Regions from separate parts of the Homo sapiens genome. Here region 2 is linked to region 1. The links are contacts of gene promoters, found by promoter capture Hi-C in blood cells and fetal thymus (Javierre and others, 2016). All regions are on one chromosome and are shown on one strand. The core of a region is centred on a gene start or on the middle of the fragment in contact, and the rest is flanking DNA. Distances in the headings are between cores, read along the strand shown. Region 1 holds the start of KCNU1 (potassium calcium-activated channel subfamily U member 1). Region 2 overlaps LOC105379364 (a long non-coding RNA gene).

Region 1 (3,836 bases), core at 1,172-3,671:
TTTATAGAATGTCTTTACTTATTATATTTAAATGTTACGGTAATCTCATATGATAAAGTTAGGCATGACTAAATACATTTTATATTGATGTGGATACCAAGGTATAGAGAAATTAAATGACTTTCCTAATATCAGGCAATGAGGAAAGGCTGGGGCCTGAGCTGGCATTCATTGTTTGTTGATAATAGTCTAGAACCACCACAAAGAAATACACAAACCAACTAGGACTACCCACACCAAGCTAGATGAGTCCCTCTGACTTTCAAAAAAGCTCATTTTATATGAAGCCAGGATTTCAAAATCACTTAATTTTTCTACTCATATTTTCTGAATGATAAAAAGGGAAGTCTCATTAAAAAACTCTTTGATAAAAGTTCACATCCTGATCAATGATTTGCCCTCTAATAAACATGACTCATGTCGGTTTCTAAATGTTGTCTGAGAATTAATTTTAAAAAATCCTAGGTATGACATTAATATAGAATACTCATTTGAATTCCATCATAAAATTGGAGCTACCTTCTGTGGAAAAACAAATTGGTCCTAAGATATAATAAACTCATATTTATAGATGTAATACATGTTTTAAATGCACATTTAAGGAGAGAAATTGTAACTCTCCAAATAATTTTTAAAATAACTCTTCACAGTACACCTAGATTTCTGATTTTTTTTTTTTTTTGCATTTGTCCAACTTCTCCAAAGGCTTAGAGAAAAACAGGTCACTCTTAATTTGATGTAATAAAACAAATCATTGAAAAGTAACTCAACTTGATCAAACTCTTTCCTCAAGATTCAAAAGCAGAATGGTACAGCATTCTGGTTGCTCAGGCTCACTTCTTAACATTTTGTAACATTTGCTAAATATTTGTAATTAAAGGGTATACCTGGATCGAAGTGTAGACATAAATTACACCCAAAGTAAGAAATGAAAAATATAGGAAATTGACAAATGTACTGTCACATTTTTGTAATCACACAAAATGAACATAATGGAGAAGAAGAACATTGCCTGGAGCAGAAGACTAAGAAGATTTAAAAATCCTACAAATTCAGTTGTGCATTAACAACAACAAAACAAGGTAGAAACAAGGAGGCAGATCCATCATAGCTATTTACCCATATGTCAGTATCCCAGAATTCTTTCTCCAATTATTGTGCCACAGCTTAAAATCCATAATGTAGAAATAATCAATAGAATAAACTTGTTTAGGAACAAAATCTATAAGCTTCAGTATTGGATAATTTTCAAATATGGAAAACAAAATTCCATATTACCAATAACTTTAAAAACTTATCAATTTATGAATTATATTTTATGTAGGTTTTAGCACTAAAAGAAATGTTTTAAGCAAATTTTCAATATTATGATGCACAGGTGAAATGTGTTGTGTTATGGAAATTGCTATAATCTATCAGAGAAAGAAAGTTTGGGAAGCAAAATTGGAAACAAACTACACAGGGTATAGTAAAACTCTTCACCTTTGACCTCTGGTAATAGAACATCCATTACACAGCATTTGAGAGCTTTATTTCAAGCTCTTAAGCAATGCCTTATCTGTATAATACATCATTTATTCTCATCATCATCATTTGCCAGCTGTTATTCAACAACATCAACTCCTGCTAAGCTTGTTTGGGTATAAGAAATGTCCTTGCATCTATGCCTGGATGGCACAGGCATGTATGCATGGGCTTCTCTGTGTATGTGCAACTCAATGTGTTGTCTTCATATGGTATACAAAAGGCAATGTACACGTCAGTACATATGCATTATGCATGAACAATTTATGAAAGCAAGGTTGATGTTGATGTCTTGTTCCCTTTCACCTCCTTTCTATGACCTAGCACAATTGTCTTGTTAAAATTCGAGATAGAGGCATGGACATAATGTTTATGAACTTTTTTTCAGAACAGTGACCTCTGTTTCCAGAGCTAACATTAATCATTATCCATACAAGACATTGCTTTTTCCAGTGATGGGAGAGAGAAGAGGCTTGGCCCTGTCTCTTCAGGCCTCAGAATGTGGCCTGAGGTCTGGCTTACCACCCTTTCTGAGGCACCAGGCTATAGAAGCTGACTCTGTTAGCTTGAAAAACTGAATGAAGCTTAGATCTTTTACTAAACACAAAACTACCCCAAACTCATCTCTGACTTCACACAGAGGGATCCCTAACAAGGAAACTGACCAAGATAATTCCTGTTCCCTTGATGATTTGCCATTTTTTAACAGATCTCCAGATCAGCCTGAAGATCAACAGGATGATGAGTCCACTGAAGAAGGTCACAAAGGAAGAGAGAATGAATGCTGCTTGGATCTCAGTTGTGCAGGACATTTTTGGCAAGTCTTCCCAAGTTTCATTTCGTAGCTTAGTCTGAAACATGTTCGAGACATCAGTAGACGGAATTGCCAGGTCATTTGATGACGCCGTGGTCGCCTGGTAACAATTCCAGGAATCAGAGTTCACTGTACCACAGTGTTCCAACATTAGGCGTGATAACCAGTGAGAAGTTCCAGGAACAAGGGTCTGCCAATCCCCCGGTGCCAGCTCATGGGTTGTGAATGAATACACAACTGGAGATGGCTGGGGCCTACAATATGAATAGTCAAAAAAATCATAATTCTAGATCGGATTGTTACGACTTTCTCTATGCCTTGAAGAAATCCCATTATCTGTAGCAATGATCAGCTGGTTATCAGTTCAGTTAATGCAGTCAAATAATTTCAAATCAACTCTTTCGGAGTGAAACAACAGCCAACTATGTGTGTGAATGAGTTGGTTCTCTATCTGGGAGGATGCCACGTGCTTAGTAGGCTTGGAAGGACAGAAGAGAGAAGTACTTTAAAGTTTTTGTTTATCCTTTATACAAAGGAGCAGATATGCAGAATGAATAAGTCTAGAAGATCTAGTGTGCAGAACAAAGAACATAATTAATAAAATTATTTGTATTCAGGATTTTTGCTAAAAGAGTAGATTTTAAGGGCTCTTGTTACACGCACACAAAAGATGATTAACTCTGTGAGATGATAGATATATGAATTTGCTTGACTGTAGTCACTGCTTCACTATGCATAAGTTTATCAAAAGAGCATTTTGCGTTTGTACTTGTATGCGGAAGCTAAAACAGTGGATCTCATAAAGATAGAGAGTAGATTCATGGTTACGAGATGCCGGGAAGGGTGGCTGAGGAAAGAAGTTGGATAAAGAGAAGTTGATTAATGGGTACAAATATTTGGTTTGATAGAAGAAATAACATCTAATGTTCTATAGATCAGTGAAGTGACTATAGCTTATGATAATCTATTGTACATTTAAAAATAGCTAGAAGAGAAAAATTTGAATGTTTCTAGCACAAAGAAAATACAAATATGTAAGTTGATTGATATCCCAAGTACACAAATTATGTGAATGTATTAAATTATCACGTGACTTGAAAATATGTGTATCTGCTGTGCATCAATCCAAAGAATATCACGTTGTACTCCTTAATTACACACAATGAAAATCAAGATTATCTTGAAACAGAAAAAAAAAGGTTTTGTTTATTCTTTACATAAGAAAGGCATAGTATAGAGTGCAGGTATTGAAGAAGACAATTTAACTAGTGTGGTCATTGGTTGATTGTTATTTCAGCCCATAAATCCATTCCACTTATCTCTTCTTTATGGAACTCTCCCCTTTCTTGCTTTTATTACTGCCCTGGCAGCAAACCTTTTGGCCCAGCAGAGGTAAAGTTCAGAATGAGAGAAATTTCTTTGATTTTCCCTGATGTTTTCAAAGGTGTAAGAAATGTCATGCCTTTCAGTGTGCACAAGTGGCAGGCAAAATGTCAGA
Region 2 (3,779 bases), core at 1,125-3,624, 3.0 Mb after region 1:
GAGGATGGCTTGAGTCCAGGATATCGAGGCTGCAGTGAGCCGTGATTGCACTAGTGGACTTCAAGCTGGGCTGAAGTTTTCTTTTGAGACCCTATCTCTAAAAAACAAGCAAATAAACAAACAAAAACATGAGTGAAGCTTCCCTGTTTTGGGTAGAGAGAGGATAACAGCCATGATCACTGTTTACACTTTCCTTTGCCCAAAGTGAAATTGGGCAGAGAAAGTCTTAACAAAAAGAAAAGAATGGTCCTAGTTTTAGGATAAGCCTTTCCCTTTTAAGTGGAAAAGCTGATGTCATGAAATCTGTTGTGACCACCTTGCCCACCAAGCAGAACAATCCACCCATGATATGTGTCAGTTTATAATTTATAGTTGACCCATAAAATGGAGGACATCTAGGGAAAGAAATAAAAAATAGAGAGGAAAAGAAGGAGGGAGGAAAGGAAAAGATCAGTCTGACAGGGAATTAAAACAAGAAGGGTTTATTGAGATAATGTGAGTTAAGTCTGGAGTTTAAGATCAGGGGTTGCCAGAGATAAGCACAGGAAGATGAGGAAAAGAAGAAAAAAATTAAAGAGAATCAAAACTCTGCTTCTCAAGCCCATGCTCTGCCAATAATTTATTCTTTAGAAATAAAAAAGGCAGACAGATCAGAAGATGGGAGAAAATCAACACAAAAGTGGAGGTGTCAACCTGAGCAGATTTCAAACTGAAACAAAGAATTTATATGATTAGCTGCAGTTACATAGAGATGTATAAACATCTTGGGCAAAACGATACCAAGCAAAACTCTAGCACTTCATGGTGCCGTATGTGTAGTTTAGTCTTTTGATATCTATTTTATATTCTGCCAGCAAAAATTTTGTCATATCTTATGTGTTTTGCCAAGTTCTTTATTTGGGATTCTTCCTGATTTAAATATTTTTAGCTGCAGTGGTTTTTTAATCATGAGGGTATTGTTTCAAAAGGAATTATTTTATATGCATCCAAAAGCAAAATTGAAGACCAATTCAAATTCATCTGAGATCATCCTATAAGTGCAGGACACTATGGAAAAACACAGAAAGCTGACCTTGAGAACTGTCATATGAAGGGATCTCAGATTTCTGTTACAAAAACACAGTTAGTGGGTGGCCTTTGCTGATGCCTCCCGATGATGTTGATTGAAGATGGCAAATTGCAACTTCATCTGTGTTCATCAGAAAATAAGGCCCATTCACTCTTCCCACCCTGAAATCCAGCCCCTTTGCAATTAGCCAGCTTTCTCAGTGGCCTACAATTTGGATAAGAGGAGCATGAATGCATGACTTTCTAGAAAGAAATATAATGTCTTGCCATGTCATTGTTTCTCTAAGGAAGCAGTACCACCCTTGATTTGGGGCTTAATGGCTCAGAACTAGCACCTGGAAGAAAAAAGAATTAAAACTTCAAGACAGATGTAATTCAGAACTTTCCCTTGGTGGGTATCTTCCTCTCAAGCTCTGTCTGTAAGGGCGGGGAAGGGGGCAAATGCATCTGTTCATGGAGATAGTTGCTAATGGGTAATTTTCTGCTTGTCCCCAAGCCCTACAGTCCTTTACCCCCCAAAACATTATGTAGAAAGAGAGAGTCAAGCTCAATATGGCAAGAGAAACATAAACACAACTGTTAGGCAATAGAGCAGCACCCCCTAAAGGCTTGGCTGTAGGGACACCTTGGTTTTTCAAACCTACATACAGACATTGGGTTGCTTCATTCCTCATATATTTAAGTTGATCCAATAAAGGCATTGTTCAGAGTGGAAATGTGTAGTACGACCAATGCAGTCCTTTTTTACAGCTAACCAATTATGGGCTAAAAGAACAATGCGAAGTCTCTTTTCCAATTGTTCGTAGGAGTGTGTTCATTCCAAGCCATTACCGCATGTGTCTGTCAGAGGGAATCTCTGCATCAGGCTGTAATGAGTCACATTAGCTTTTTTTCCGCAACAAAGCATTACATGGCCTGGCTCTATGACAGCTCAGAGATTATGGTTCAGGGAGCAGCTTTAAATCTAGCTCTCTTTCTTTCTAGAAAATCCAACGAGGCTGCAGTTATCAGGGCAGCTCTTAAAACCACAGGCAAGGAAGGAGGAAGAGTCTATCAGCACTTTGGGAGGCCAACGCAGGTGGATCACTTGAGCTCAGGAGTTCGAGACCAGCCTGGGCAACATGATAAAACCCTGTCTCTACAAAAAAATACAAAATTAGTCAGGCCTGGTGGTGCATACCTGTAGTCCCAGCTACTAAGGAGGCTGAAGTGGTTCTAGGGACGCAGCTCTAGAAGGATGTAGACAGGCACTGCTGCCTGCAGAAGGAGAGAAGTTCCTGAGAGACAGTTGCCTCAAGGAAAGTGTGTAGTACCATGGGGAGGCAACAAACAGGGAAGCCCAGGGTCTCAACCTACCACATCTCTCTCCAACATTTATTGTCGCCCTGCCTTAGAGTCAAGCAGCAAGCCTTTCCCTAACAAAATACATCATTCGCATTTTGCTGTTCCCTCTTGGGTCACTTTCTGTCTGCCTCTCCAGATCCAGACTCTTCCATTCTCTTCCAGGTTCTTATCCTGATAGCCTGACCTGGATGGTTTCATCCATTTCCCAAGATGGTAGCTTCCTGATTGGGCTCCTGGGTTCATAGGGAAAGAGGGATGAAGCCAGGCAAAAAATCAGAGCAATGGAGCAATGAAGGTGTTTGCTTGTCCTGGCTCCTTCCCTCTGCTCCTTTAGGCTGGTTCTGCCCCCAGCCTGAAGGGCACTGTTCTTTGGAGGTGGCTTCCTCCACACTGGGCTTACTGCTCCTAGGGACCCTTCTTTCCCACTCAATCCTAAGGATCTAATAATAATATCCTATCCTCTCCCCTCACCGCTCCTGCTCCACGTTACTGCACTAATACTTGTAAATAAATCATCCTGTTTAGAGGACACCATCTGTTTCCTGTTGGGACCCTGACTGAAATTCTCTTTTCCTCCTTCTACCTCCTTAGAGATTAGAAAACTAAACCTCAGAGAAGTCAAATTTCTACTTTTCTTTAGATTTACAGCTAAAAAGTAGCAGAATCAGGATCTAAACCCAAGCAGCCTTGTTCCAGAAACTTTTCTTAGAGCCCCTGAACTATGCTGCCTCAATAACACATGAGACTAGAAATGCAATTTTGCTTCTCTGCACCCATCAAAATCCTCCCCATCCCATTCAGTAGGAGTAAAGCTGCCCTCCTCCATGACCTTCTCCTTGACCACTCCAGCTCCATCATTAGTTCATTCCCGTGGAGCATAGTGTCTGTGCCACCCCCAGTACACATACCAAATGCTACTTCATCCTATCCTTTAATTATCCATGTACATATTCTTGTTTCTCCAATGGATAGAAAACCTCCAGTAAGACAGACATCGTGGCTTCCATGTAACCCCCATTGTCCTTAGCCTACAGTAAATACGGTGGCCTGAGTTAGTCAGCAGAACAATGATTGAGAAGGAATTTCCATGGCTATATTATCTGTCAAAAAAAGCAATTGCCCCAGTAATTCATGGATTGTTCTTAAATTTAGATTTTTTAAAAAATGAGCAGTGGAGGCCAGGCATGGTGGCTCACACCTGTAATCCCAGCACCTTGGGAGTCCAAGGTGGGTGAATCACCTGAGGTCAGAAGTTTGAGACCAGCCTGGCCAACATGGTGAAATTCCATTTCTACTAAAATTACAAAAATTAGCCAGGCATGGTGGTGGGCCCCTGTAGTCCCAGCTTGGGAGGCTGAGACAGGAGA

The links. The method cuts DNA at HindIII sites, captures the fragments that hold promoters and counts their contacts. A CHiCAGO score of 5 or more calls a contact.
Region 2: a contact is called between a fragment that was not itself captured here and the fragment with the promoter of KCNU1 in region 1, in 2 of 17 cell types (M2 macrophages and endothelial precursors). The highest score is 6.8, in M2 macrophages.

The regions. Positions count from the first base shown.
Region 1 is chr8:36,782,959-36,786,794 of GRCh38, reverse strand. KCNU1 (potassium calcium-activated channel subfamily U member 1) reads right to left here and starts at 2,421. Exons shown (of 27, transcript NM_001031836.3): 1 at 2,190-2,421. The coding sequence starts at 2,384. The HindIII fragment of the contact is 1,918 bases long and covers 2,111-3,836 here.
Region 2 is chr8:33,798,515-33,802,293 of GRCh38, reverse strand. The region is part of intron 2 of LOC105379364 (a long non-coding RNA gene); the gene reads right to left. Among named protein-coding and RNA genes, the nearest start is that of DUSP26, 200 kb to the right of the region's middle. The HindIII fragment of the contact is 4,467 bases long and covers 141-3,779 here.